7 separate regions of the Homo sapiens genome follow, and regions 1, 2, 3, 4, 6 and 7 are each linked to region 5. The links are contacts of gene promoters, found by promoter capture Hi-C in human tissues and cell types (Jung and others, 2019). All regions are on one chromosome and are shown on one strand. Each heading gives the region's core, a stretch centred on a gene start or on the middle of the fragment in contact. The rest is flanking DNA. Distances are from core to core; before and after follow the strand shown.

Region 1 (4,128 bases), core at 627-3,126, 1.9 Mb after region 5:
GGGAGAGGGGATGAGGGCAGGGGCATCTCAGCGGCTCAGGGCAAAACTGCAGGGGTCATCTCTTCCCGAGGGCGGTGTCTCCAGGAGAGCCACCTGCCACGCCTTCACCCTGCAGGGCGATGGCACCTCCACAGCCTCTTTCCAGGATCTGCCTCTGTGACCACACGGGGTTGTCCTGGGCCCGAGCCTTTTCCCACAGCGCCGCCTTGTGGACACCTGTGCAGGAGCCAGCAGCCCGCGGAGGCTACCTGCTCCGGGTGCACATCCTGTAGGGGTGTGTGTGGGGGGACCTGAGGAGGGGCCCCACAGAGCTGCCTGACCAGGTGCTGCCCTGGGCCCTGCATAATGGCAGGAGGAGGGCCCGCGGTGCTCTCAGCCCCCGAGCAGAAGTCACCACTGGAAGGAAACTTGCCTGCCGTTTCCAGCATCTTGTCCCCGCCGCTGCGTGACCTTGGCCGGGCAGTGTGGTGGCACTTAAAATTGGAAAGTGTGAGCTTCTTCCCCACAGCCCCACCCTCTGGGTAGGTCCTGAAGCCCTGAGCCCCACAGGGGCCCCCTCTTCAGAGCCATGAACTTACAGTGTCCTTCTCTCTCCTCAGTGTCCCCAACTCCTGCCCAGCCAGTCCACGCGGTGCCGGCTCCTCCAGTTACCGCTTTGTGCAGAACGTGACCTCGGACCTGCAGCTGGCAGCAGAGTTTGCAGCAAAGGCCGCGTCGGAGCAGCAGGCAGACACGTCTGGAGGAGACAGCCCCAAGGTCTGAGCCCACCTGGCGCCGTGGTGCACCTGGTGACCCAGGATCGGGCCATAGTGACCCGGCGCGGGCGGCACAGACAGCCCAGGGCCTGCGGGCGTGTGCTCGAGGTGGTCTCAGCCCACAGGGAATGGAGCCGCAGCTGGCGGTAGAGCCGTCGGCCCTTTCTCGTTTTCGTGCCCAAATCATCCCCGTTGGTCATTTGCTGGTGACAGGGGTGGCGCCGTCACCGAGGGCCCCTCCCGCCACGCTCCTTGTTCATCTGCCGCTGGCAGCCCGGCGTCAAAGCCTTCATACAGCCCTTGAGCAGGATGGCGTTCTCCTTATAACTTTGTCTTAGTTCATTTTTGTCCAATAGCTGTTTTCAAATTGATTTCTGGAAGAGGTGAGAAATTTCAGAATTAAATTATAATAAAACCGAAGTTTTCCTTCCCATGAGGCAAAAATGGTTGTTCCTAGTTGAATGCAAGCACATTAATGGGATAGTTGGAGGGCACTGGGACGGGTGCCGGCAAGACGCGCACATTCTCGTGGGAAGGTTCCTCCCCATCAGCTGTGACGGGTGGGTGGGGTAGACTCAGGGACCTTGCTGGAGCTCATCCCGTGAGCCGTGTTTCTCCGCAGGATGAGTCAAAGCCGCCGTTCTCCTACGCGCAGCTGATCGTGCAGGCCATCTCCTCCGCCCAGGACCGGCAGCTGACCCTGAGCGGGATCTACGCCCACATCACCAAGCATTACCCCTACTACCGGACGGCCGACAAAGGCTGGCAGGTGAAGCCGAGTCCCCAGGGCCGGATCGCCTCTGAAGGCCCTTAGAACATGGAACTCACAGGCATATTGCTTCCCTTAAAACAGAAGAGGGCCAGTGAGGGGGCTCACGCCTGGAACCCTAGCATTTTGTGAGGCCGAGGCAGGAGGAGGATCAAGACCAGCCTGTGCAACATAGAGAGAACCTCTTTTCTACTAAAAATTAGCTGAGTGTGGTGGTGCACACCTGTGGTCGCAGCTACTCGGAGGCTGAGGTGGGAGGATCACTTGAGCCCAGGAGGTGGAGGCTGCAGTGAGCTATGATCACACCACTGCACTCCAGCCTGGGAGACAGAGAAAGACCCTGTGTCTACAAAGAAAAAAAATATCTTTTTAACTAAGAAGATAAATATAAAAGAGGGATGTTTTCACGAATGGCATATGGTACATCTGAAAGGCATTAGCGCTGTGATACCATTGTGTCTAAATACTCTTTTTTATTAGTTTCCTTCTTCTGAGCCCCAGAACTGAGAAGATGGATCTACACCTTGTTAGATTTTTGTGCTTGCTGTGCCTCACAATCCCACGTTAAGTTGGAAAAATGTACCATATACTGTTATTCAAACAATCCACATGTCTGAATTGTGGATGGCATTTTAAGAGCTTTGTCCACACCAGCCATGACTGATGCATGTTGCATTTGCCTGTATTTTCTCCAATGTCAGTGTAGCGCATCCACTAGCTTTGGTTTTTTGTTTGTTTGTTTGTTTTTTGAGACAGGATCTCGCTCTGCCATCCCGGCTGGAGTGTGGTGGCGCGATCTCAGCTCACTGCAACCTTCGCCTCCCAGGTTCAAGCGATTCTTCTGCTTCAGCCTCCCAAGTAGCTGGGGCTACAGGTGCCCACCACCACACCTGGCTATTTTTTGTATTTTTAGTAGAGATGGGGTTTCACCATGTTGCCCAGGCTGGTCTCAAACTCCTGACCTCAGGTAATCCTGCCAGCCTCGGCTTCCCAAAGTGCTGGGATTACAGGCGTGAGCCACTGTGCCCGGCCAAGACCCAGTGTTTTCTTTCTCCCAGATGTGCTCCTAGACCAGGATCTGTCTTTCTGTTTCACTTTTTCTGTAAAGAATGGTAATGGCAGCCAGGCACAGTAGCTCATGCCTGTAATCCCAGCACTTTGGGAGGCCGAGGTGGAAGGATTGGTTAAGCCCAAGAGTGTGAGACCCCATCTCAACTAAAAATACAAAAAAATCAACCCAGCATGGTGGCCCACGCCCATAGTCCCAGCTAGTCAGGAGGCTGAGGCAGGAGAATCCCTTGAACCCGGGAGGCGGAACTTGCAGTGAGCCGAGATCGTGCCACTGCACTCCATCCTGGGCGACAGAATGAGACTCCGTCAAAAAAAAAAAAAAGGTAAAATGGTAATTATGCGGTGTCAAATTTTGATAGGAATGACCTGCCCTGTGCCTCGGTGCTGCTCCCGTGAGGCCCAGCCAGCACAGCACCAAGGGCTCTGCACAGAGGGACGGCCTCCCCTCACCCTGGTCCCGCATCTGCTGCAGATTTGAGGTGGGTGGGACTCATTTTCTGATTTGCTGGTGATGGGTGAATATCTCTGCTTCCCTGCAGAATTCTATCCGGCACAACCTCTCTTTGAACCGTTACTTTATCAAAGTCCCACGTTCCCAGGAGGAGCCTGGGAAGGGGTCCTTTTGGCGAATAGACCCTGCCTCTGAAGCCAAGCTCGTGGAACAGGCATTCCGGAAACGGAGGCAGAGGGGTGTCTCCTGCTTCCGCACCCCCTTCGGGCCTCTGTCCTCAAGGTAAAGTTCTCTGAGCGCCCGTCCTCCAGCTGTTAGGAAAGCTGAGCTGCCCTGGAGTTTAGAGATACGTGGCGCAGTCAGCCCTCCGGATCTGTGGGCTCAGGCTCAGTGTACGGGCATGCAACTGATCACAGGTCAAAAATATTCCAAAAAAAAGAAGGCCGGCGCGGTGGCTCACGCCTGTAATCCCAGCACTCTGGGAGGCCGAGGCAAGTGGATCACCTGAGGTCAGGGGTTTGAGACCAGCCTAGCCAACATGGTGAAACCCCTGCCTCTACTAAAAAAATTCAAAATTAGTCGGGCATGGTGGCAGGTGCCTGTAATTCCAGCTACTGGGGAGGCTGAGGTAGGAGAATCGCTTGAATCTCGGAGGCAGAAGTTGCAGTGAGCCGAGATTGTATGTACCACTGCACTGCAGCCTGGGCGACAAGAGCAAAACTCCGTCTCAAAAAAAAAAAAAAAAAAAAAAAAAAAAAAGTAATACAAATGAAACAATACACACTACAACAGCTGTTTACATAGCAGGTACATTTGTTAGGGATTATAAGTAACCTGGCGATGATTTAAAGCTTACAGGAGGATGTGCACAGGTTGTATGCAAATGCGACACCATTTCTATGAGGAACTTGGGTAAGCATCTGCAGATTTGGTACCCACAACCCCCGCCCCTCAAGTACCGAGGGGTGACTGCTGGTTTCGGCACTTAAAGACTGCACCATTTTCTGTTTTTGTTTTGAGAGAATATCTCAGGACCAAGAACTCCTAAAATAGTAAGGTTACTAAGTAAGCCACTGACTGTT
Region 2 (4,322 bases), core at 1,547-4,046, 1.9 Mb after region 5:
TTCAGCTGATAGTTAAACTTGATCCCTTCGAACCCAATAAACTCTGTTTTTAAAAACAGAAATCTTTTATAGGAACAGGCTTTTTGTAGTCAGTTAATTTTTAAAGCTGTTTTAAAAGTTGAGTGACACAGCATATTTTAAATAGACTTTTTATAGAGCAGTTTTAGGTTCACAGCAAAAGCATATTTTTATAGAAATAAAGTTATATAATTTAGTCATTGGCCTTATTAGCATGTTGTGATATGACTTGGCTACAGTTAGTATATTTTTTTAAATGTACAGTAATTTTTTGATGATTTAGGGTGGCACGATTCATCCTGTTAGTTACTGCCGTTATTTTCCCTGGGGGCCTCTGTCGCCCAAGCCGCTCTCTGATGGTGCCCTTGGCCTTTCAGCCACGGATATGGGTGTCCCCTCCCCTGGAGAACAGCAGAGTGATGGGGGAGGTGGGACAGGGTTGGGGTGTCCCAGGTGAGTCCTGGAGTAAAGTCAGTAACAGAATTTGTCTTGTTTTTTTGTTTGATTTTGAGGCGGTCTTGTTCTGTTGCCCAGGCTGGCCTTGAACTCCTAGGCTCAAGTGATCCTCTAGCCTCTGCCTCCCAGTGTGCTCAGGTGTGAGCCACCTCATCTGGCTTCAAATAATCTCTTTAAAAAAATAACAAAAGTTTTTTTTCTGTAGAGACAAGGGGTTGTTGCCCAGGCTGGAGTACAGTGGCATGATCACAGCTCACTGTAGCCTCTAATTCCTGGGCTCAAACGATCCTCCTGCCTCAGCCTTCTGAGTAGCTGATACTACAGTGCCTACTTCCATGCCTGGCTAATTTTCTTTTTATTATTTTTTATAGAGACCAGTGTCTCACTATGTTGCCCAGGCTGGTCTTGAACTCCTGGGCTCACATGATCCTCCCACCTGGGCTTCCCAAAATGCTGGGATTATAGGCCTGAGCCACGCGCCCAGCCAGAATGTGTTTGTATGGAGACATTGTTGTGTGGGATTTTTCATGAAACTTTTCTAGGTTTTTTTTTGTTTTATTTTATTTTTTACTTTGGAACATTTACATCAAAATAAGCAGACTTTCTGAAAAACTATGCCACTTTGGATAAACATAAAAATTCATTTTCTCCCTCCCCAGTCTGATAGGAACTCTTGGAGGAAATTTCTCTCTCTTTCCCTTCTCACTATAAATCACAGCAAATCAGCAGTACACAGAGAATAAAAGCAATCTTCTGCCTGTTCTGAAAAAGCTTTGCTTCTTGTGATTTGTATCACGAGGGGGAAAGGTCCTTACTGTTTTTCCAGACCTACAGTTGTGATAGAGGCTCCTCCCAGCCCCGCCCACAGACCCCAACAGTGCCCTCTCTCACAAATGGATTCTGGGGCTTGGTCTTTATTTTTGTTTTTGTTGGGGGCAGCATATGGAACCCAAAAATAGTATCATAGCCTAGATTTGGAGCTTTGTGCCAGCCTTGTCTGTAGGATGACCCGTGTGGGTCTCACCTGGTGACTGGGAGTCCACAGGGGTCAGTTAGTAGCAGGGAGCTGCAGGGCGCCTGTCAGCAGAGACCGTCTCATTCCCCAAACCCAGGAGCCAGAGGAACTGACGCCCGGATAAATGCCCAAGCCGCCCCGGGTGGGATTAGTCGTCTACCTTCCCAGAAATACACCCTCCCATCCTGTGACTTGGATACAGTTTACTGATGAAATTAGGGAACCTCCTGCGCCTTACCAAGAAGCTGTGGCTGGAACTTAGTCAATGAAAAATGATTTGTAAACTCTTTGGAGCTGGCTTTGAAAGAATGTTTAAAATGATAGCTGATACTGCCAGACAACAGAACAGGCCGGCCTTAGCCATGAGGCTCCAGAAGAAGGAGAACTGCAAAGTTTGTGTCCGCTACCTCTGCCCTTGGGATGGAGCCATTCTGTCTGCTTGGCTGTACAGCCCTGGCATTGGGAACAGTGATTCATCGCCGCTTGATGAAAACATCTTTCCGTTAAGAATATCCACCTCCCTCGGGTTGGAGTCCATATTAACCAGGGAACACTTGCAGCCCTAATTTGGTTCCTAACCTGCAAGAAGATTTTGCTAGAATATCCAGCTTCCTTTGCAATTCTCTTTTTCTCTGTAAATTGTGGTGTGGACAGATTTTACAGGCCTGCCTACCTTTGGATTGGCCAATCAGGGATGCCATGGCGAGTCTAGAACTTCCTGTGGTGGTAGAAATGTTTTATATCTGTGCTGTCCAACATGGCCACCACTAGGCATGTGTGGCTGTTGAGTGTTTGAAATGTGGCTCAAGGCGGGGCGCGGTGGCTCATGCCTGTAATCACAGCACTTTGGGAGGCCAGGGTGAGAGGATCACAGGTCAGGAGTTCGACACCACCCTGGCCAACATGGCGAAGCCCCGTCTCTACTAAAAATACAAAAATTAGCCAGGCGTGGTGGCTCACGCCTGTAATCCCAGCACTTTGGGAGGCCAATGTGGGAGGATCACCTGAGGTCGGGAGTTCGAGACCAGCCTGACCAACGTGGAGAAACCCCGTCTCTACTAAAAATACAAAATTAGCTGGGCGTGGTGGCGCATGCCTGTAATCCCAGCTACTTGGGAGGCTGAGGCAGGAGAATTGCTTGAATCCAGGAGGGAGAGATTGCGGTGAGCCGAGATGGTGCCATTGCACTCCAGTCTGGGCAACAAGAGCGAAACTCCGTCTCAAAAAAAAAAAAAAAAAATTCCCACAAAAATTAGCTGGGTGTGGTGGCGTGCACCTGCAATCCCAACTACTTAGGAACCTGAGGCAGGAGAATCTCTTGAACCCAGGAGGTGGAGGCTGTAGTGAGCTAAGGATGCACCACTGCACTCCAGCCTGGGCGACAGAGCAAGACTGTGTCTCAAAAAAAAAAAAAAAAAAAGAATCTTGTGCTGAGTCTGACCCCTGACATACATTAGGAGGGGAGGCTTCCATTTGTCCCTGTCTTAACTCTCCTTCTTGAAGCCAAAGGAAAGACGCAAATCATCTAGGAGATTCTGATGGATAATAAAGAAGAGGGACAAGCTTGCTGATGTAGGGGAAATAAATCGCCGAGGCTCTGTCTAGCTTGGATTTACTGTGTGTATTGGCTGTGGGTGGATTACAGGTGAGCTCATAAATATTAGTATTTTGCTCATGTCCTTCCAGATTTGTAATTTCCTTGATAAGCAGGTGTGTGCGCGTGACATGTCTGTCGTCTACCCGTCACACGGTTGTACCAGGTAGCCTTTGCTTAATAAGCCCTCGGAGTACTCGTCCTTTGAGCTCGTGGGACTTGCGGGGTGGTCATTAAGCGTTGGTGTGAATACCGGGTATCTCCGTCTCCCAGAAGCTGCGAGTCCCTCGAGGGCAGGGGCTGGTTCTTTCGGGAGGCATTTTGTTCTCAGTGCCTCGCCCAGTGCCAGTGAAGACACACTTCCAGGTGTCATCTGCTATAACCTGCTAGCCCTTCTAATAGATAAACCCCAAAACCTTGCCTATGGAAAGTCCACAGTAGATGTTTCTGAATGGTGGGCAGAAAATGCCTCCTTCGGGCCAGGTGCTGTGGCTCACGCCTGTAATCCTAACACTTTGGGAGGCTGAGGTGGGTGGATCACTTGAGGCCAGGAGTTCGAGACCAGCCTGGCCAACATGGTGAAACCCCATCTCTACTAAAAATACAAAAATTAGCCAGGCATGGTGGTGTGCTCCTGTAGTCCCAGCTACACGGGAGACAGAGGCAGGAGAATCCCTTGAACCCGGGAGGCGGAGGTTGCAGTGAGCCGAGATCATCCTGCCACCGCACTCCAGCCTGGGCGACAGAGCGAGACTGTCTCAATAAGCAAAAAAAAGAAAATGCCTCCCTTAAGGTGTGATTCAGGGACCCAGGCTGGCACTGTCTGGAGTCCAGCGGCCTGGGCACGGCTGCACCTGCTGCAGTGCTGTCTGCATCTGGAGGAAAAGAGGGAGGCTCAGGGGAGGCCAGGCCCAGAAGTAGCATATCTCACTTCCACTCAAGCCAGTGACCAGAGCTCAGTCTCCGGCCACTCCAAGGGAAGGCAACGTGCTCAGGAAGAAGATGACAGTGGCCTGCTGAACAGCTAGCCGGTATTCACGGCCAACTTTTCAGATCAGGGTAGCCAGCTGCAGCCTGTGGGCCAGACCCTGCCAGCTGCCTGTGTTTGTAAATAAAGTTTTATTGGAACACACCAGGCACATTTGTTAAGTGCTGTCTGTGGCTGCTGAGCTGAGCCGGAGACCATGTGGACCCCAGAGCCTGTGTTATTTCCTTCTGGCCATGCCTGGTGGCCCGTCT
Region 3 (4,214 bases), core at 1,053-3,552, 1.1 Mb after region 5:
AGAGAATACATGATAAATTTATTTTCCCTGTGTCTCCCGGATGTCTAGAGCGGGAGTCAGGAAAAGGAAGCATTTTTGGGGGGACTTAGGAGGAAAGAATTCATTTTTTTTTTTTTTTGGTACCTTAGAATACAGAGACAGTGATCCACATTAGAAAGGTATGGGTTGGACTCTCCTACTTCCCTAGGATGTTTCTTCTACCAGTGTGGGTGACACTGGAGTTGGGGTGGGCCATCAGGAGATGGAGGTGAGCCTGCCCCGGATGGCTGCCCCCTGCTCAAGTGAGCCAGGGTGGGAGGAGATGAGGAAGACAGCCCCTCTGGCTGTGCCTTTTGGCCCCCTTTTCTCTCAGTTGCCCTAAAAGTTATTTATTCCTGGAGTTGGCTTTAGAAATAAATAGGAAGTATCTTGGCATAAGTCAGAGAAGGGTCCAAGGCAGACCATCTTCAGACGCAGTGAGACCCTCATCCTCTACTCCATCATACACCTGTTTTCCATTACGGAGTTCTGCTGTCCTCTAGTTCAGCTCTGCTCTCCAGCAGGCTCTCTCGGGTGGTGACCAGATGGCCGCCAATAACTCCAGACTTAAATCCTGCCTGGGCTGCGGGGCGGACACCCCATCTACTGTGCAGGCACTGCTGTTGGCTCCTGTGGAGCAGCTGTGGAGCAGGGGTGGGTGGAGTAGCCTCTGCCCATCCTGAGGGACCTCCTCCGTCCTCCAGTTGTGGCCTCTGCTCAGGTTCATATGGCCACACAGCAACACTGTCTACCTTTTATGCTTCTGCTGATCCCTACCTCTCCCAAAGACAGTAAGCTCGGGAAAAGGGGACAGTGACGGTGTTAGTGACCCCACCACACCCACTACAGTGTTGAGCACTCATCACATGTGTGTCCGTGGAGCTGGCCTATATGCGCTCTCCAGTATGAGGCTGTATTATGTCTAAGGATACACAAATACACGGCTTTAAAGTAGGAATATTTTTTAATTTACTACAAAGAAGCTCAGGGATTAAAGAACCATCCGTCTCTTAATTCTCATGGTCGATGGCTTTATCTTTTTGCATAGCGTGCTTGCCTAAAGCGAGGCACCTCTTCATATATAAATCAGCCTTTTTTTGAATAAAAGTTAAATACAACAGGATGGAAATGCAGCTTTGAAAACCTATAATGAGCAGGAGGGATTATTATGCATCTACACCCCGGGGAAGTGAATATTTCATGTTAGAAAAAGTAGAGGCCAAGGGCAAGGTTCATTTAAAATGTATAAAGATAATAAAAGCGCTCATGGATGGAAAGGCCATCTGAAAGGACTGTTCACTTTTTGGAGAGGCTGATGTGGAATCATTGTGTTTCTTTGCAGGGGGAAAAAGAAAAAGTCCTGTGTGCGAATGGCCCCCTGCGTGGTGCTGCGTCAGCAGACAGGAGCATTATTTTCCCCTGGAATGTGCAGCGCTTGGTGCCTCTGTTCTCTCTGTAGTGCACAGAGCCAAGCAGAGAGAGAGGCTGAGCGTTTCAAAGAGAGACAAAACAAAAACAGATTATTCTGCTGTGCTGCCACATCACCACAGCACAATACTCTGTTCAAAATTGTCTCTTGTCAGGCACATTCTTCAAACAGTATTATGTGTACAAAGACTCTCTGTGTTGGAGAATTTGCATGTGTAGGGAAAATAGCTGCATAGTGCGGAATATTTCCTGAAGAGGCCAGATTTCTGTGTGTGTATGTGTGTGCCGGGCATCTGTGTCCTTAGCATTTTGGAAGGTGCCTGAGCTTTCGGAGGTCACCAAAAAGTACTGAGTCATCGTGCCATTCGGTTACCTTCGGCGCTACCATCCTAGTCTGAAGCTTTTACAGGCCTCTAAGAAGGTCTTCCTGAGACCCCAGTCTTGTTTTTTGCATAAGTACGCTGCCCAGGCTCCGGTGATTGACAGGTGTAGAATGGGACGTCCTCCTTTCCCAGTTGCATGATACATAGTGTTCAGTGTTAATTTCTGGAATTCAGGTCACTTGAAAGGCCAATTCTTGGGCCTTTCTGCCTGAATGGCTGATGATTCCTCTCCTTGCATCCCTCGTGATCAATTATCCAGAAAAACTGATTATTCAGATTGTTAAATCCCCAGTTAGTCCGGATAATCGGCATTCTGTTGTATCCCATAAATGTGGCCCACGCTGTGGAGCAGGGTGGGCCTCTTCCTGGGGCCCTGTGGCTCCTCTCTCCCCAAGCTCAGGCGTGCTGCTCTGTCTCCCGCTGCCTGCTCTTCTGGGCATTCCGCTCTCCTCCAGCGCCACTGATGCACAGCCTTTCCAAGAGGGTGGCCTTGCCTCTGGGTCAGCTCTCCATTTTGGGGGGACTAGGGTGGCCCGGCTGGAGGCCTCTGCAGTCTTTGTAACTGGGACAAAAGTTGAAAGGACACATAAAAAAAATTACAGATAAACCTGAAGGCACATGTGCTCACATGGCTGCTGTGGCTGTGGGATTGTTCCTTCTGCCTGTGAAATGGCTGAATTTAAAACCCATGCTTCTTTGTCCTCTAGATCCTGTACCCCCACTTTAGGAAGGGGCAGCAATCAGAATTAGGCAGCCTACTGTCTTTGTTGGGGGGCTGTAACAAAGTGCCATAGACAGAGTGGCTTGTCAGCAACAGAAACTTACTGCTCACAGTTCTGGAGGCTGTGAAGTCCAAGACCAAGGCACCAGCACATTCGGTGTCTGGTGAGGGCTCATTTCTTGGTTTGCTGTGTCCTCACATGGCGGAAAGGGCAGACGGGCTTCCTCAGGCTACCTGAGGAAGGGCACTAATCCCATTCACAAGGGCTCTGCCCTCCTGATCCATTCTCCTCCCCAGAGCTCCACCTCTTAATGCTATGACCTTGGGTAGCAGGTTTCAACATATGAATTTTGGGAGGACACATTCAAACCACATCACCTGCCCAAGGTCTTACAGCCGGTGGTAGCCCAGGCCAGCCATCTCTTTACTGTACCCATTTTGTCTCTAGTTCTGTATTAGGTGTTGGAGGAGGGAGGTCACACAGATGTGAAAATGAGTCAGCTGAACAAGGAGCAGGCCCTGCCCTGGAGGAGCTTAAGGGGAAATTATAAATTTCCCTCAGTAGTGAATCATGCTATAATCTAGTGCAGGGTGCAAATATGTGACCTGAGGGAGCTGGATAAAGTACTCACCTTGCTGTGGAGACGTTTGACTTGCACCTGGAAGGATGACTCAGAGCAGAGATGAGGTGGGGGAGGGCATTCTAGGGAAGGGGCCAACTTGAGCAAGAGCTTGTAGGTGCGGGGGCGTGCAGGGCAAGGGGGCCCTGTTCACTTAGAACAAAGGATCGGCCAAGGAAGTCTGGGAAACAAACCAAACTACAGAGGAGCTTGAGCAGAGTCGAAGTTTATTTTGTTCCCTCGTTGAAGGTTTAAAGCCGAGGAGCTACGTGATGAGCGCTGTGTTTTAGGAAGAGGACTCCGTAATAGAGAGGATGAGCCAGTGGATCCATTTCTAAATGTGTTTCTTAGGCTATAGGAGGAGGAGCTTTCTTTATTTATTCCAAAATTTGCTTTCAGATGCTAATGCGTGTATTGTGAACTCTGAGAAGAGAGAGTTCCAAAATGTATTTGACCACAAAACCTCTTTTTCACGGTAACTGGTGCACAGTAGGCACTCAGTGTTTTTGCATGACCAAATAAGCAAGTACAACACCAGCGTGCCACAGAGTGTGGTTCAAGAAACATTGCATTCTGTGAGGCGCTGAAGCAAGAAGAAAGGCCAGTGAGAGGCTTTGATATTTATCCGGGGAAGAGGTACTGATTGCTCAAGCTAAGCTTCAGTGGACTGAAGATAGGGAAGCCAACCACCCACAACTCCTCCAAATACCTCCCTCTCCCAGGCAGGCATGGCTGGGGCACCCGCTTCTGGGCTCTCCTGCCCCCTGGGCCCACCCCACGGATGGCTTTTCATGCATTTACTTATCATTCTCCTCTGGCAGAGACCGGCACGGTCTGGCCCGTGGGGGCTCAAGACAGTTGACAGAAGGAAGAGGAAGGAGACCTAAGGGACTTGGCAGCTGGGTGGAGAAGAAGACCCGATTTCTTTATTTATACATGGACTTGCTTGAAAAAGATTTCTAGTCCTTAACCAAAAAAAAGTGCAGTGACCTTTCCACTACGACATCTGTTCCCACGAGATGCAAGTCACAGTTTTCATGTAAG
Region 4 (4,043 bases), core at 758-3,257, 1.3 Mb after region 5:
ATGGAGCAGTGTTTTTGGCCAACCTTGAGCAGACCTCTGCTGCCCTGTGCTAATGCTGAAAGTGGCTGCCTAATCTTCTGGGCTTTGTGGACTAACTTCCGCTGGCCAACTGTGGGTCATAGGAGCTTTTCTTGCCCCCCTCCTTAAATTTTTAGAAACCCAAAGGAAGGACGGCAATTAACGCTCATGAAGGACTCACTGTCACCTGACCCCGGTCCCTTCAGTCTGATCTGAATTAGTGAGGTTCTGTCTGGAGAAGGAATGAACCAGCTGCACCTCTGCCCCAGGCTTCTTGGATGAGAGTCACAGCTTGTGCTTGACAGATGGAGGGGCTGTTCATTCTGGACTAACCTAGGCTGTTAGAAATACAACTTAAATTCCTGACCTTTGTCCAGACATGGGATGAGGAGGAGGTATGAAGGGTTGAGATGGTGAACTGGGTCAGTGGCCAGAGGAAAAGAACAAGACTCCCCCACTCCTTCCCCCAGGGAGCCTAGATCCATTTTGCTTATTGATGTCAAACCCTCTTATTCGCTCTCTTTTGCTTCTCTTCTCTGACTCTCTGCGTTAATGAGAATATTTGGCTCCATTGTTTTTGCTGTCGTAGACATGGCTCTGTTTCCTGGAGACAGCTCCTGAGCCCAGCATGAGTCCTCCTTTCCTTGGGGCTCCCAGGGCACAGAATCGCTCTTGAAGCTGGGGAGTCAAGAGATGGCCAGGGCCTGCCCACAGCTGTTTCCACCCCAGAGTCCTCGGAAATGCCCCGGATCTGCCCTCTCTGCAACCCAGAGCCTCCCTGCTTCTGTCCCTGTACTACAATGCCGTGCAAAGAGACAGTCCCCCTGTTGTTGTTTTCAGTAGAAAAATTAATTAACTTGCTAGATGCTGGAAACTGCCTTAGGAGACACAGTTGGAACTCAGAGTGACTTTGATGGGAAATGGACAGAAAGATGAGCTAGGAAGCCAAGTGCGTGACGGGTATCAGAGAAAACCTCGCACAGTCAGCAGGAGGAGGCGGATGACGTGGGGGCACAAGGCCTGTTGGCATGGGTGGAGGTGGCTTTGGGGGGCTGCCATCCTCAGGACAGAGGAGTTTAAAAGGGAGGAAAGCATAGACACTTGGGGGGCCCAGGGCTCCCGGGCCTGGCCTGTCTGCTCTAAAGATGAAGAGGGAAACATAGAAGGTGGTGCCGAGGTGGGAGGGCAGCCTCTGAGGACAGCTGGAGTGAGGACGCAGATCAGCTCCCAGCAATAAGGAAAGGGGACTTGGAGCCCTGGGCGGTGCCACCCCCTCACCTCTTCCTAATGCTCATCTTATCCGTGCCAGGTGCTGCAATGGGTGCAGGTATTCCCAACACCACCCCTCCACCCTCGAGACAGCCAGGCCGGGGTGAGGAGTCTGCACCCTGGGCTTGGGTCCAGCAGCGCCCAGCACACCGAGGGCACCAGCACGTGCCCAGTGCATCTGCACGTGCCACCCGCTCTGTGTGCCACAGCGTGGAAGGGCCTGGGAAGCTCTGGATAAAGGCTCCTCTCATCCTTTCTTGCTCATTCCCCGGGTCCCGTTGGTGACAGGTCTGAACCTGCCGCCACCCTTGTAGGTTACTGTAATGCACAGTGGGTTGCAATGCACAGAAGCCCCCTGGGTTTCCTCAATGCTGGTTAACTTTCAGCCACCAGCACCAAGCCAAAGCTCCTGTGCCACTTTGTGGCTTTATTTCTTCCTACTCTTCTCAGAGGGCAGGAGGTGAGGGTAGACAGGAGGACTCTTAAGCAGTAGCAGGGAGAAGCAGAACCATGGCCTTGTGGGAATGCTGTTAGGGCGTGGCGTGAACCCTGGAGCCCACCAATGAGAGCCCCGGAAGAGCAGCCGTGGTGACAACCAGTGTGCTTCTGAGAGGACCAGTGTTTCAGGATGGAACTGCCCAAGCAGCAGGGCTGGGCCCAGTGTCCCTCGGCTCTCCTTCAGACTGAAGCTTTCATTACGTTCCAAAGGAAAGGTGGAGACGCACCCACATGCAGCCTGGGATTGTGGTCACGTGGATTTCAAAAATCTCTGTTATCTTCACTGTCTGAATCTTTGTGACAAAGGAGAGAACTTGAGAAGTTCAGAGGGACAGTTCTAAATCCAGTAAAAGGCAGGCCAAGAAAATAGTTTTTCAGAATTAAAACTTCTGCCATAACCAACAAAAACTTATGGATAAAATATAACTTTCTGGAATCTTAAATGTATTGGCCAGGCAGGGTCCTCACACCTGTAATCCCAGCACTTTGGGAAGCTGAGTCTGGAGGATAGCTTGAGTCCAGGAGTTCAAGACCAGCCTAGGCAACATAGTGAGACCCCATCTCTACAAAAAATACAAAAATTAGCCAGGTGTGGTGGCATGCACCTGTAGCCCCAGCTCCTTGGGAGGCTGAGGCAGGAAGATGGCTTGGGCCTGGGAGTTTGAGGCTGCACTGAGCTATGATCGCACCACTGCATTCCAGCCTGGCCAACGGAGCAGGTTATTATGCCTCTAAAAAATAAGTAAATAAATGAATTCATCAACACACTCATAAGAAAAACAGGGAAATCCTCAGGTGTCAGAGGCATAACAGGAACTAGAAAGAGTTCAGCAGGAAGTGCTGGGCTGGTGCCGCAGCTGCCCTGGGTGGGATAGGATCAGGTTGGATCTTTCCTGGTGGTTTCAGGACCTGGGGTAAGGAGTCTGCACCCTGGTCCTGGGCCCAGCAGTGCCCAGCACACTGTGGGCACCAGCACGCATCCAGTGTGTCTGCAGGTGCCACCGGGAACTGTAGATACACTGGGCAGGCCATGCAGTAACATGAGAGTCAGCTTTGAATCTGTGTAAGGGAAGAGTTAGGGCCTAAACTCCTGCAGTTGAGACACGGCTCTTGAAGGCCTTTCCCTCCTTCCTAGGAGAGGCTGAAACTCTGCCTGCAGAGGTTTGACTGTATGTCTACCTGGACTCTGAGTAGAGAATGAAAAGTCAGTCTGAGCCCTGTGCCCAGCTCAGGACTGGGTTTTGAATTTGCATTATATGGATGGCCCAGGAACTCCCAGAACAGAAATTAATGTAACATTTGGTTCCAGAAACCAAAAGCACGAGCAACTAAAGAAAAAGTAGATACATTAGACCTCATCAGAATGAAAACCTTTATGCTTCAAAGAATGTCATAAAGGAAATGAAAAAAACTCCCCAAATGGAAGAAAATATTTGCAAATTATGTATCTCATGAGGGATTTATATCTAGAATATATAAAGACTTCACAACAAAAAGACAAATGACCCAGTTAAAAACTGGGCAAAGGATCGGCATAGACATTCCTCCCAAGGAGATTTACAAATGGCCACCAAGCACATGAAAACATGCTCAACATCATTAACTGTTAGGGAAATGCAAATCTAAGCTGCAATGAGATACCACTTCACACTCCTAAAATAAGATGGCTAAAATAAGAAAAGTTGGACAATAACAGGTATTGGTGGGCATAGAGAAATTGGAATGCTTGTACGTTGCTGGTGGGAATATTAAATGATTCAGAAACGTTGGAAAACAGTTGGCATTCCTCAGGAGGTTGAGCAGGGAGTCACCATACGACAAAGCAACTCTACTCCTAGGTATGTACCCAAGAGAGCAGAAAACATATGTCTACACAAAATCTTGCACATAAATGTTCATAGCAGCTTTATCCATAGTAGCCGAAAAGTGGAAACAACCAAAATATCACTCAGTTGACAAATGGATAAATAAAATGTGGTCTATGCATTCAATGGATGATTCAGCAATAAAAAGGAATGGAATTCTGATACATGCTACAGTGTGGGTGAACCTTGAAAACATTAGGCTAAGTGAAAGAGACCAGGCACAAGAGACCACATATTGTGTGATTCTATTTGTAGGAAACATCTAGAATAGGCAAATCTAGAGAGGCAGAAAGTAAATTCATGGTTTCCTAGACTAAGAGAGAGCATTTGAGAGGAATGGGAAGTGATGGGTGATGGAAACAGAGCTTCTTTTGGGGATGATGAGATGTTCCA
Region 5 (4,191 bases), core at 521-3,020:
TCCTCCTGCCTCAGCTTCCCAAAGTGCAGGGATTACAGGCACGAGCCATCACACCTGGCCGACTTCTACAGCTTCTTTCACAAATATGGCGAAGAGAAAAAAGGAAGCAAGAGACAGGAGAATCTGGAGATTCATTGCAATGCATGTCGAGTCACACAAAACAATTATGCCACAATGGAGGAATTCTGAACACTGGATATCTGGTGATAATGAGCTATTACTAATGTTTAGGTTTGCTAATGGTACTGCGGTTGTGTTTTTACATGGAGGCCTCATCTTTTAGCCACTCATATACATCCTAAAACGTTTCCTAATCCAACTACACAAAGTTGGATTTGCTTGGAGACCATGGGGAGGGCACAGGTGAATAGGATTGGCACAGAATTGATGACTGCTTTAGTTGGGCTGTAGGTACTTTACAGTCAATCTACTATTTTCTCTACTTTTGTATACATTTGAAGTTTTCGTATTAGAAAGTGTGGCTCACACCTGTAATCTCAGCACTTTGGGAGGCCCAGGTGGGAGGATGGCTTGAGACCAGCCTGGGCAAGAGAGTGAGAGCCTTTCTAAAAAAACAGAAAAGTAAAAAGAGACTCATGGCTGGTTCCCGTCCAGTCTCCACTGCTCTTCTTCTAAGCTCAGCCGGAGGGCACGGCCGGTTGGGCTCCTATCCCACAAATCTTCCAGTGGGAAATGGACAGATACCATTCTGCTAGGGCACATCCAGGAGGGGGCTAAGTGCCAAGCCCCCACTCCCCATCCCCAGAAGCTGGCCCGAGTTCCCACTCCCACGGTCCCCAGGCACCCTAGAGAGGGCAGAGGCAGACCGGGCGCCATGACTCATGCCTATAATCCCAGCACTTGAGGGAGACCAAGGCAGGAGGATCACTTGAGGCCAGGAGACTGAGACCAGCCTGGGCAACACAGCAAGACCCCATCTCTACAAAAAAAAACTTAAAAATTAGCTGGGCTGGTGGTGCGCGCCTGTAATCCCACTACTTCGGGAGGCTAAGGAGGGAGTAGGGCTTGAGCCTGGGAGGTCGAGGCTGCAGTGAGCTGTGAGGGCGCCACTGCACTCAAGCCTGGGAAACACAGCGAGACCCCATCTCAAAAAGGGCGAGACGGGGTGGGGCAGAGACGACGCCAGCAGGCCTCGGGGAATGGGTCGGGGGGGAGTGGGGTGCAGGCGGGGCTGGATCCAGCATCCTCGCCCCAGGGGTCCCCGCCCGCGGCGGCGGACCACGGAGGGGCCCGGGGCGGGGGTTAGCGCCCCGGCCCACCTGGGTGCAGGTGCTGGGCGGGGGGCGCGCGTCACCTTGAGGATGTTGTCGAAGATGGTGTCGCGGAACTCCAGCAGCGCCTTCTGGTCGAACTCGCGGCCGTGGATGATGCGCATCTGCTTGAGGAACGTGGACTTGCCGCTCTCGCCCGCGCCCAGCAGCAGGATCTTCACCAGGCGCCGGACCGCGCGCCGCTCGCGGGCCAGCAGCGCGTCGATGTCGCGGCTACGCCTCCGGGCCTCGCGCTCCGCGTCGCGCGCGCCGCTGCCCGCCCTGCGCTCGCGGGCCCCGCCGGCCTCGGCCGGCAGCAGGCAGCGGCTGAGGGTCCGCACCACCCCGGACATGGCCCCTCAGGCCGCGGCCGCGCCCCGCCGGCGCCCGGGGGCCATGGACGCTCCCGCCGGCGAGGGCGAGCCCGGGCCGAGGCACCGCCCCACGCCCCGCCGCTCGCCTCAGGCCGCGTCCGCCGCCGCCGCTGCAGTCGCTCCGAGGCCCGCACTCGTCGCCCGGCCGCCACTCGGGCCCGGCGGAGGGGCGGGCGGCGCCGCGTGAGGCCCGGCGGATTGGGCCGGCTGCCGTCCATCTGGCCGTGAGAGCCCTTCGATTGGCTCATCTCGCCAAGGGAGGCGGGCATCCCTTCCGGCCTCGGGGCGGGGTCGACGCCGAAAGAGGCGGGATCTTTGAGGTGAAGGCGCTTCTCATTGGACGCCCAGGCTGAGGTTCTTTCTTTCAGAATGAAAGGGAGGCGGGGTCGCCCGGGAGGCGGAGCGATCGTCCGCCATGGCCAATTATAATTGCTCTGAGTGGACATCAGACGTGCCCAACGGGCTTTGGATTGGGTGTTCGGGGGACGGGGCGTGACGAGAAGTGCCAGGTGTACAGAAAGATTCTCCCTTGGTTCCCAGATTGGGTCCGCCTGTGAGACCAGGACCTCGCGGAGTAGCCCAAAGGCTGGGAAATGCTGATAAGAGGTTCAGCTGCTCGTCGTATTCCCTCCGATGATCTTGTTTCTACACTATTTTCCTTCCAGAAACACTGGAGGGGGATGGGCCATAAATTTCAAACACATGCACCCTTTGAGAGTGGCATGGGCTTCTAGGAGGCTTTGCGAAAAGCTGACTAATCACTAAAATCACCAGAAGCTCCCCCAAAAGTCTTATGTCTCACAGTGATTGAGAGAGTGGGGTCTGGAGTTGCTGGGCCTGAGTTGGAATCTCCAGTCGACCAGTTACTAGGTGTACTAGTTGCATAACTTTTTTTAGCAGCTTTCCCCACCCCCCCCAACAAACCCTTTTGGATGTTCTTAGCTTCCGTTTCCTCATCTGTAAAACGGGGGTGTCATTGACGACATTGGTTATGGCTTGACATTGCTCAAATCGTCATGAAGATATAAACTGAGAACATGAACTTACCAAACACTTAGCACGTGAGCTAGCCCAAAATCAGCTCTTGATAGAGATCAGCTGATTACAGATTCTTGACTCTCCCAGATCTACTGAATCAGAACCTCCTAGAAGGAGCTCAGGTATCCCTTAAGATTAAAGGCGTGAGCCGCCGCGCCTGGCCCAGTGTGTAGTCTTTTATCTCTCGCCACCCCCCACCTTTTACCCTGAGTCCCCAAAGTCCAATCTCTGTGCGGTGTCTGTTAACTCTGCTGATTATTTCTTTTGCAGTGCCGAAGCTTTTTAGTTTAATTAAGTCCCATCTATTTATCTTTGTTTTTGTTGCATTTGCTTTTGGGTTCTTGGTCACAAAGTCTTTGCCTAAGCCAACGTCTAGAAGGATGTTTCCGATGTTATCTTCTAGAATGTTTATGGTTTCAGGTTGTAGATTTAAGTCTTTGATCTATCCTGAGTTGATTTTTGTATAACGTGAGAGACGAGGATCCAGTTTTATTCTTCTACATGTGGCTTGCCAATTATCTCAGCACCATTTGCTGAATAGGCTGTCCTTTCCCCACTTTGTTTTCATTTGCTTTGTTGAAGATCAGTTGGCTGTAAGTATTTGGCTTCATTTCTGGGTTCTCTATTATGTTCCATTGGTCTCTGTGCCTATTTTTATATTAGTACCATGCTGTTTTTGTGACGATAGCCTTATAGTATAGTTTGAAGTCAGGTAAAGTGATGCCTCCAGATTTGTTCTTTTTGCTTAGTCACAGATCTAAACTCCCCAGAAGGCTGGGCACGGTGACTCACAACTACAGTCCCAGCAGTTTGAGATGCTGAGGTGGGAGGATCACTTGAGCCCAGGAGGTCAAGGGTGCAGTGACCTATGATCGTGCCACTGTACTCCAGCCTGGACAACGGAGCAAGACCCTGTTTCAGAAACAAAACAAAACAAAAACCAACTCCCTGACAACCTTGAATGCACATAATATGTATTATTTGTCACTTGCTACAAATACTACAAATCATGCCATGAATTTGTATCACTTATGAGTCAAGATTTTGTAATCCTTGGAAAATGATTAGAAAGTCTTGCTTGTTTGTGGAAATGACCTCCCATAGGAGGCCAAATATGGCTGGGCACGGTGGCTCATGCCTGTAATCCCAGCACTTTGGGAGGCCAAGGCAGGCAGATTATCTAAGGTCAGGAGTTCAGGACCAGCCTGGCCAACATGGCGAAACCCTGTCGCTACTAAAAAATACAAAACTTGGTTGGGTGTGGTGGCGGGCGCCTGTAATCCCAGCTACTGGGGAGGCTGAGATAGGAGAATTGATTGAACCCGGGAGGCGGAGGTTGCAGTGAGCCGAGATCGCACCATTGCACTCCAGCCTGGGCAACAAGAGCAAAACTCTGCCTCAAAAAAACAAAAAAAAAAAAACAAAAACGGGAAGGCCAAATACTAGGTCTGGCATGGTAGCTCACACCATGTAATCCCAGCACTTTGTGAGGCTGTAATCCCAGCACT
Region 6 (4,312 bases), core at 423-2,922, 1.9 Mb after region 5:
CTGAAGCAAGGAAGTGATTTGTCAAGCCATTTAGACACTGTCCCTGTTTTCTTTCAACAAACAGAACTTTTTTTTTTTTTAAGCAGCGAAGACCTTTTGCTCTCTGTTGGGGTGTGATTGGGGTTTGCATTTGGGGGCTCTCTTGAGCTTTGCCGCTGTCTTCAAGGATGGTATCTAAAGGGAAAGTCTTAAAATAAATAACTTTGAATTTGGATAGGAATGTCTATGCAGTGAGGGACAGGAGGCTTCCGTGTGTTTCACTAGAACGTTCTTGTTTTTGGCCTACGAATGCTTTTACTTAGGAAGCACGAGACCTGTGCTGCAGACCGTCTGTTGGAGCTGGCCGCGGCAGGACGGCGATCACCTTCCTGGCAGGCCCCTCCTGGATTCTGCCCTCTGCTTCTGAAAGCGTTTCCTCCATCAGCTTTAGCAAAACTGGGCCTGGCAGATCATTTGAAGTCAGGAGTTCGAGACCAGCCTGACCAACATGATGAAACCCTGTCTCTACTAAAAATACAAAAAAGTTAGCCGGGCACAGTGGCACGTGCCTGTAGTCTCAGCTACTCAGGAGGCTGAGGCAGGAGAATCGCTTGAACCCGAGAGGTGGAGGTTGCAGTGAGCCAAGATTGTGACATTGCACTCCAGCCTGGACGACAGAGCGAGACTCCGTCTCAAAAAAAAAAAAACCGTGCCTGGGCCTTGGAGGTGCCTGAGTCCAGAAGACAGACAGCGGGAGCTCACTCCTGCCATGTCGCTCTTGTTTCTTCTCCCCTCTGCAGGGCGGCAGCTGCTTTGCCCTCAAGACTTCTCTTTTCGCCCACTCTATTCATAGGGGGAAATGACAACACAGGCGCTTTCCCTCAAACTCTGTGTATTCATACATCACCAGAGTGTTCAGAGAAGTGGGATATTTTGGTGAGTTAATTTACTTAATGTGCTTAGCACACAGTACCTGGTATATATAATAATAGCAGATATTAGTTGTCAACTACTAATTTTAATTTTTTTTTTTTACAAACGGGGTCTTGCTCTGTCACCCAGGTTGGAGTGCAGTGGCACAATCATAACCCATTGCAGCCTTGAATTCCTGGGCTCAAGTGATCCTCCTGCCTCAGTCTCCTGGAGTAGCTGGGACTACAGGCATGCACCACTATGCCAGGCTAATTTTTTTATTTTTATTTTTTGTAGAGACGGGGTCTCACTCTGTTGCCCAGGCTGGTTTTGCACTCCTGGCCTCAAGTGATCCTCCCACTTTGGCCTCTCAAAGTGTTGGGATTACAGGCGTGAGCCACTGCTCCCAGCCTATTATTATTATAGAATTTCATGTTAAGGTTTGCAGGTTATTCTTTTACTTTATTTTTAAATTTTATTTGTTTATTTTTTTGGCAAGGGCGTCTTACTCTGTTACCCAGCCTGGAGTGTGATGGTGTGATCTCAGCTCATTGCAACCTTCGCCTCCCGGGTTCAAGTGATTCTTGTGCCTCAGCCTCTGGAGTAGCTGGGATTACAGGCATGCAGCACCACGCCCAGCTAGTTTTTATATATTTAGTAGAGACCCGTTTCACCATGTTGGCCAGGCTGGTCTTGAACTCCTGACCTCAGGTGATCCTCCTGCCTTGGCCTCCCAAAGTACTGGGATTACAGGCTTAGCCACGGCGCCCGGCCTGATTTTGCAGGTTGTTCTAAAGTGCGGTGTTTCTCCTTTTAGGCTTCAGTGCTGAGGGCGGCCTGCTGTCCGTCCCTGCGGCAGACTGGGCCCTGTCCCACCTTCCCGTCACTCCTCGATGTCACATCAGAGTGCTCTCTCCTGGGTGGGAACCCGCGCACGGAGGAAACACTTTACCAGAGTAAACGAGATTATAACTTGTTTGCCAGAGAACCTCTCCTGTGGCCATGCCTGAACCTCTCCTGGGACTGTCCGTGGTCTTCACATTGGTGCTTGGACACCCGTCCTTCGGGAGGGGAGGAAAAGCGGCCGGTAAAATGGAGACAGTCGGTGGCGTGTGTTTGCCGATTGGACTGGCATTGGTATAGACAGATACCAATCACTGCACAGACATTTCCAGGGGCCCTTCCCCAGCCATGTTTAGTGGCACTGACCTCAGGCAGCTGGGCCCCCGGGACAGCAACCAGGGGACTGCCCTGGCCCTGGATGGCAGCCGGGACCGGCTCACAAGCTTCTGTTTGGAGCAGTTCTGTTGGCAGCCCCCCGCCTCCAGTGGAGATGTGACACGACTCTTTCTTGCCTGCCAAACGTTCTCTGATTCTTTGGATCATCGATCCTAACACAGCAAAGGCGGTATTGTTGCTGTCCTTTCAAGGTTAATCCAGGATCAGAAAAGTCTAATCATTTCTCTGTGGTTTTTGGAATTTCCAAAGAGCACCCAGATTTTAACCCTCAGTCCTCGGGGTTGTCCGGCTGCGGCTGTGCTGCTGTTGAGCATTAAGCTCATTCCACTTCACATGTAAACTTGTTTCTATGCATTCACCTCCTGGGAGACTCCACATTCCTGAGAGAACTGCATGGTTATGAACTCTTACTCGTGTGCACTAAAGTGCACGTGCTGTGTGTGTACTGACCCTCTGCCCTGTGGGAGCCACGTGCTGTGGGGAGAACAGACCAGCAGCAGATGGGACTCCTCCTCCAGGAACCTGCTACCAGCTAGGCGTGGTGGTGCAAGCCTATACTTCTGGCACTTTGGGAGGCTGTGGCAGGAGGATCACTTGAGGCCAGGAATTTGAGGCCAGCCTGGGCAACATAGTGAGACCACGTCTCTTTTTGAAAAAAAAAAAAAAAAAAAAAGAAAGAAAAGAAAACGTATTTTTCTTAAGTCGGGCATGAGAGTGAGCCAGGGAATTCAAGGAAGGCTGCCTAGATAGAGAAGGGGACCCTGGGGAACAGTCTTAGAGGACGCAAAGTCTATGCAGATAAACCAGCGTCTGGTACTTGGTATCAGTCAGGTGGCCAGTGAATAATGACTACGTGGAATTACTGTGGACAGCATTTTGAGATCTGCAGATTAAGCCATTTTGACTTCCCAGAAGCATTTTCTTAAATCAGCGTAGAGACAGAAGATGAAAGTTAACCTGAATTGCTCGTCGCAAGCAAGCTCTGCCCGGGTCAGCCCCAGAGGGTTGCAGAACACTGTGTCTGTGTCCGCTGTCTTAAAGAGCCTAGTCCATCTTTACGCGGTCTTTTTACGTCTGTTTAAGCCACACAGCATGGTGGGGAGCGGAGGTGATTTCGGAGCCTACTCTCCGATCCTCAGGATCCTCTTCGGGAGCAGCAGGCAGTGGCTTTCTCCTGGGCCAGGCAGGGTTGTCTGGGGAGTGGAACGTCTGCTAGAAATGCAGATCGCTGGGGCCACCGCCGTTTGGCCGTGTCAGTCATCTGGGGGTCCCTTAGCCTCCGCAGAGTAAAGCTGTGGGAGTCACCACGGGTCCCCATGTTGGGATTGGGAAGCAGTCACCTACCAGATGAGCGTTCCTTCCGCGAAGGGAAGGTGGGGGGATTTTGAAGGAGCTGTGAACACCGAGGGTGCCGTCCTCGCCTGTGCTGCCATGGGGTGCTCAGGACTGCCGGGCCCCGGGAGCCCCACCCGGCAGGACACACACCTGAGCCCCAGGGAGGGTCGGTGGCCATGGCTGTGCTTGGCCGCCTCTGTGGGGCTCTATCCTAATTCAGTGAGGTCTCTCGCCACCTTCCTCCAGGGTCTTCCTGAGACAGAGACCGAGACTTCAGCTTCAAAAAGAAACCCTGGCCGGGTGCAGCAGCTCACGCCTGTAATCCCAGCACTTTGGGAGGCCAAGGCAGGTGGATCACCTGAGCTCAGGAGTTTGAGACCAGCCTGGCCAACATGGTGAAACCCCATCTCTACTAACAATACAAAAACTAGCCAGGCCTGGTAGTGGGTACCAGTAATCCTAGCTACTCGGGAGGCTGAGGCAGGAGAATCGCTTGAACCCGGAAGGTGGAGTTTGCAGTGAGCTGAGATCCAGCCACTGCCCTCCAGCCTGGGCGACAGAGCGAGACTCTGTCGAAACAATTTAAATAAAAAAAAGAAAAGGAAAAAGAAAGCCCGGCTTCGGTCAGACCGTTGTCTGCGTTTTTCACCGCGTGTCACCGACTCAGCATATGGGCTTGAGTATCTCGCTGTCTTTTCTTTTTCCAAATAGGACATGCTTATTTGCCTGATTACAAAAATAGATGCATTCTCCCTATTTAAACAAATTAGGCCCTATGAACGCATAAGAACTTATAAACACTAAAACTGCTACCGGGTTTTAATTCACACACACCACGCACACCCCC
Region 7 (3,769 bases), core at 615-3,114, 1.9 Mb after region 5:
TTCCATTTGCATGAAGTATAAAAAGACGCAAAACTAATCTCTGGTGATAAGAGAGACTAGCAGTTACTTGTGGGGGAAGGGAGTGGGCGTTGACTGGGAGGGGGCCACAGCGGGGAACCTCTGGGGAGCTGGAAATGGTCTAGGTCTTGAACTCAAACCATGGCAGGAACATTTACACCACAGAAATTATCAAACACAAATCAACCCCCGGCTCCCCACCGTCGCCAATGGAGCCGAGGCTTAAGACATTTGCAAATTTACCACCGATTTCTAGAAATGTAAATAGTGGAGTTCATTTAAGATTTGTGCGCTTTGGTGTGGACGTTTTACCCTAGTAAACGTTAAACACTGGCAGTAGGCTTTCCATAGACTACCTGTCACCAGCTTTCCTTTGCCAGTCTTCAACCTGCGGCTCCAGGGGCACCCGCCGCACTCCACCGACTCCCATCCACCGCTCACCATCCACCGATTCCCATCTCTTCATTCTCTGCACCAGGTGCCCTCAGACATCACTGGGCGCCCTAGGGCATCTCAAAGCCATGTTTGGAACTCCTGCAGGAAGCCCTCCCTCCTCCTCCTCCTTCCTTCCATCCAGGGGTCTTCTCGGGGCTTATCCCTTCAAGGCCTAACCTTGACCCACCCTATCTACGCAACATTGATTCCCACCCCTACCCTATTCCCCAGAACCTTCAGCAGTGCCTAGCGCAGCTAGGACTCAATCATCGCTTGTCCACTTAATGAATGACTCTTGGCACAAATTTCCTCGTCCTTTTCTGCCCCAGACAGACACCCCACAAACATGAAGTTACCCTTGATTTTTCCACTTTCTTCCTCCTGCCTGCAAATTCCTCAATCACAGGTGGTGCAAATCCTACCTCTAAATGGTACTGAATCTGCCTACTTTCGGGGCAACCTCCCTTACCTGGACCACAACTGCACCAGCCTCCTTTCTCCCTCAGGAGCTTCCCAATCCATTATCTCCCCTGCGGCCAGAGATCAGTTTCCTCCTGGGGTGCATTTAAGCCATAGGAAGCAGATCGCTACCCTAGGCCCGTCCCTCCCCACCCCTTGGTCTGGACACCCTCTGGGCTCATCTTAGGCCGCAGTCGCCGAAGCCTTCCTCCTCCGGTTGGACCCCCAACCAGGTCAGGCTGTCATAGCGTTTATCATGACGCTGGCGTGTCGCCCTGTGTCCCTCGGCCGTCTGCAGGATGGCAAACTTATGGCCAGGGCCCAGCACATTTGGGCACCCAACACATCCGTTAGAATGAACAGAAACTTCCCCTCTCCGAGCCTGTGGCCTCATCTGTAAAACAGAGATCGCGAGATCCCATGAATACCGTGGGGATTGAATAAGGGATTTTTTCGTTTCAAGCAGCAGGAACAGCGCGGGATGGGTGCTCAATAAATGGGAGCTCAAAAAATCCCCAAAACTGCCCAGAGCCGCGGCTATTCCTTGCAAACTGCTGGACACTGCTGGGCTCAGCCCACAAGTGTCGGAGTTTGCATCAGATTTTCAGGTCGTACTTAGCAAAGGGACTCCCGCACGACAAAGCTGTTTACGAAACAGAAACCAGAACTGGGGCAGTGACACTTTGGGGCCAGCAATGCCCTCTCCCAAAGCCCCAGGCGCCCAATTTCCGCCGAAATGCTTTCCGGGGTCGAAGGGCGCCGGGGCTCCAGAGTGCCGAGGTTCCGGGGTCGCGCGATTCCGCAGCTCCCAGGCGCCGACCCGGACCCCCGGCCGCGGCACCTACGCCCCGCCCCAGTCGCTCCACGCCAAAGCCCATTGGTCGGCAACCTGTCCCTCCTGCTCATGTGATGCGGCACGTGACGCAGCCACGTAAGGCCGCTGCGCTCACGTGACGCGGTCCCGGAAGTTGACCGGGGTGCGGAGCTCCTGGGCTGCAGCTCCTGGAGTTTCCGAGGTTCGTGCGCGTCTGGTGGCGGCGGCGTGATGTTCTCGGCAGGAGCGGAGAGTTTGCTCCACCAGGCCAGGTACGGGGGAGCTGCGGCCCCGGCCCTCCTTCCTGCATCTCTCCCTAGGGGCACACGGGGGTGGGTCTCACAGGGCAGGGGCTTGGGCGCCAGCCTTGCAGGAACCCGACTGGACTCGCCCTCGAGACTTGGGGATCGGGTAAGGCAACACGGCGGCCAGGCTTGGGGTGAGGAGGTCGGGGAGGGTCATGGTGGGTCCCCGGAGGAGGTGACACTTGAGCAGAGTCTTGGTGAGTGAAAGCAAGTGGGGTGGGACCCAGTCGACAGTTTAGTCAAAGGCTTGGCGGTGAGAACTCCGCGTCTGGCAGGAAATCGGGCAGCCGGGAGATTTCAGTGCCTCACAGTCAAGAACGCAAAGTCACAGTGTCCGGAGGCCTGCTAAGGAATAAGGCTGTGTGCCAGGCTGGGGAGCTGGAGGCCATCCGAGGGCTTTGCGGAACCGTGGGAGGGTTTTGTGACTTAAAAAGATCTCTCTTGCGCGGATGTATTAGCTAGGCTGAGAAATCACCCTCCAGGCTGGTTTCAGGCTGTGTCTGGACTCCCAGTAACGAGTGAGTAGCTCCTTCCTCACCAACTAACCAGTCATGGGGGAAAACAGTGTAAGCCAGGACTGAACAGACTCACGGTCCACCAAACAGGCAAAGACTTCATACTACATGTTTAAAAGAAGAAAATGCTGACCGGGCGTGGTGGCTCACGCCTGTAATCCCACCACTTTGGGAGGCCAAGGCAGGCGGATCACCTGAGGTCAGGAGTTCGAGACCAGCGTGCCCAACATGAGGAAACCACGTCTCTACTGAAAATACAAAAAAAAAAAAAAAAAAAAAAATTAGCCGGGCGTGGTGGTGGGTGACTGTAATCCCAGCTACTCGGGAGGCTGAGGCAGGAGGATTGCTTGAACCTGTGAGGTGGAGGTTACAGTGAGCTGAGATGGCGCCACTGCACTCCAGGCTGGGGGACAGAGCGAAACTCCGTCTCAAAAGAAAAAAGAAAAAAAGTAAAGAAAATACAGCCAGCACTACAGCCCCTTGGTAAACGTAAACAAACTTGGTGAGGTGAGAGGCCGAAGCAGGAGAAGTGCATGAACCCAGGAGGCCGAGGGTGCAGTGAGCCAAGATCGCACCACTGGACTCCAGTCTGGGTGACAGAACGAGACTCCATGTCAAAACAAACAAGCAAACCTGGACTCAGAGCTAGACCAATTGGTGGGAAAGATTCGGGTGGTTGAAATTGCTGTGATTATAGTGAGTGAGGTCTTGAAGGCAGGTTAAGTTCTAAAGCCCGAACAGGACAAAAATCTCTGATCAAAATAACCCTTAAGAGTCCACTCATTAGGAAGAGGCTTGGTGAATATGCAGCACCATCTCCCAGCAGCTCAACATAGGCAACCTTCCCTTCAATCCTGGACAGATATGTCATTCATGTGAATGTGGGGACTATATGAAAATGAAAAATACTGGCATCTCAGCATGTAACATGTTAATCCCAAGGTCCTTGCCAAGAGACAAGGAAAAACACCCACTGAGAACTTCATTCCCAGTCACATTCTGCTCAAGGTCATAAACTTGTGACATGAAAAACAAAAGGAAGAGCCCTCTTTATTTATTTATTTATTTATTTATTTATTTATTTTTATTAGAGTCTCTTTTGAGACAGAGTCTCCCTCTGTCGCCCAGGCTGGAGTACAATGGCGCAATCTCAGTTCACTGCAACCTCCGCCTCCTGGGTTCAAGCAATTCTCCTGCCTCAGCCTCCCAAGTAGCTGGGATTA

The links. The method cuts DNA at HindIII sites, captures the fragments that hold promoters and counts their contacts. A contact is called where the count stands out against the background at its distance.
Region 1: a fragment that was not itself captured here is called in contact with the fragment with the promoter of GNA12 in region 5 in 1 of the 25 tissues and cell types used here (dorsolateral prefrontal cortex).
Region 2: a contact is called between a fragment that was not itself captured here and the fragment with the promoter of GNA12 in region 5, in 1 of the 25 tissues and cell types used here (dorsolateral prefrontal cortex).
Region 3: a contact is called between a fragment that was not itself captured here and the fragment with the promoter of GNA12 in region 5, in 1 of the 25 tissues and cell types used here (dorsolateral prefrontal cortex).
Region 4: a contact is called between a fragment that was not itself captured here and the fragment with the promoter of GNA12 in region 5, in 1 of the 25 tissues and cell types used here (dorsolateral prefrontal cortex).
Region 6: a contact is called between a fragment that was not itself captured here and the fragment with the promoter of GNA12 in region 5, in 1 of the 25 tissues and cell types used here (lymphoblastoid cells).
Region 7: a contact is called between the fragment with the promoter of AP5Z1 here and the fragment with the promoter of GNA12 in region 5, in 2 of the 25 tissues and cell types used here (lymphoblastoid cells and spleen).

The regions. Positions count from the first base shown.
Region 1 is chr7:4,753,860-4,757,987 of GRCh38, forward strand. It overlaps FOXK1 (forkhead box K1), which reads left to right. Exons shown (of 9, transcript NM_001037165.2): 3 at 600-756; 4 at 1,378-1,524; 5 at 3,135-3,328. Among named protein-coding and RNA genes, the nearest start is that of AP5Z1, 20 kb to the right of the region's middle. RefSeq lists enhancers at 1-447, 1-41 and a silencer at 39-333. The HindIII fragment of the contact is 4,385 bases long and covers 1-4,069 here.
Region 2 is chr7:4,693,226-4,697,547 of GRCh38, forward strand. All of the region lies in intron 1 of FOXK1 (forkhead box K1), which reads left to right. Among named protein-coding and RNA genes, the nearest start is that of FOXK1, 13 kb to the left of the region's middle. The HindIII fragment of the contact is 7,115 bases long and covers 1-4,322 here.
Region 3 is chr7:3,908,727-3,912,940 of GRCh38, forward strand. The region is part of intron 5 of SDK1 (sidekick cell adhesion molecule 1); the gene reads left to right. Among named protein-coding and RNA genes, the nearest start is that of SDK1-AS1, 560 kb to the left of the region's middle. RefSeq lists an enhancer at 2,179-3,378. The HindIII fragment of the contact is 4,501 bases long and covers 53-4,214 here.
Region 4 is chr7:4,114,953-4,118,995 of GRCh38, forward strand. All of the region lies in intron 25 of SDK1 (sidekick cell adhesion molecule 1), which reads left to right. Among named protein-coding and RNA genes, the nearest start is that of FOXK1, 570 kb to the right of the region's middle. The HindIII fragment of the contact is 4,788 bases long and covers 1-4,043 here.
Region 5 is chr7:2,842,538-2,846,728 of GRCh38, forward strand. GNA12 (G protein subunit alpha 12) reads right to left here and starts at 1,771. Exons shown (of 4, transcript NM_007353.3): 1 at 1,316-1,771. The coding sequence starts at 1,624. RefSeq lists enhancers at 1,078-1,895, 1,858-2,152, 2,135-2,264 and silencers at 1,245-1,294, 1,635-1,964. The HindIII fragment of the contact is 31,365 bases long and covers 1-4,191 here.
Region 6 is chr7:4,725,949-4,730,260 of GRCh38, forward strand. All of the region lies in intron 1 of FOXK1 (forkhead box K1), which reads left to right. LOC124901581 (a long non-coding RNA gene) reads left to right here. Exons shown (of 2, transcript XR_007060199.1): 1 at 1-915; 2 at 1,709-4,073. Among named protein-coding and RNA genes, the nearest start is that of FOXK1, 46 kb to the left of the region's middle. The HindIII fragment of the contact is 6,895 bases long and covers 1-4,312 here.
Region 7 is chr7:4,773,759-4,777,527 of GRCh38, forward strand. It overlaps AP5Z1 (adaptor related protein complex 5 subunit zeta 1), which reads left to right and starts at 1,865. Exons shown (of 17, transcript NM_014855.3): 1 at 1,865-1,998. The coding sequence starts at 1,958. RefSeq lists enhancers at 607-1,283, 1,284-1,960, 1,334-1,383, 1,424-1,513, 1,944-2,013 and 2 more and a silencer at 1,694-1,823. The HindIII fragment of the contact is 20,755 bases long and covers 1-3,769 here.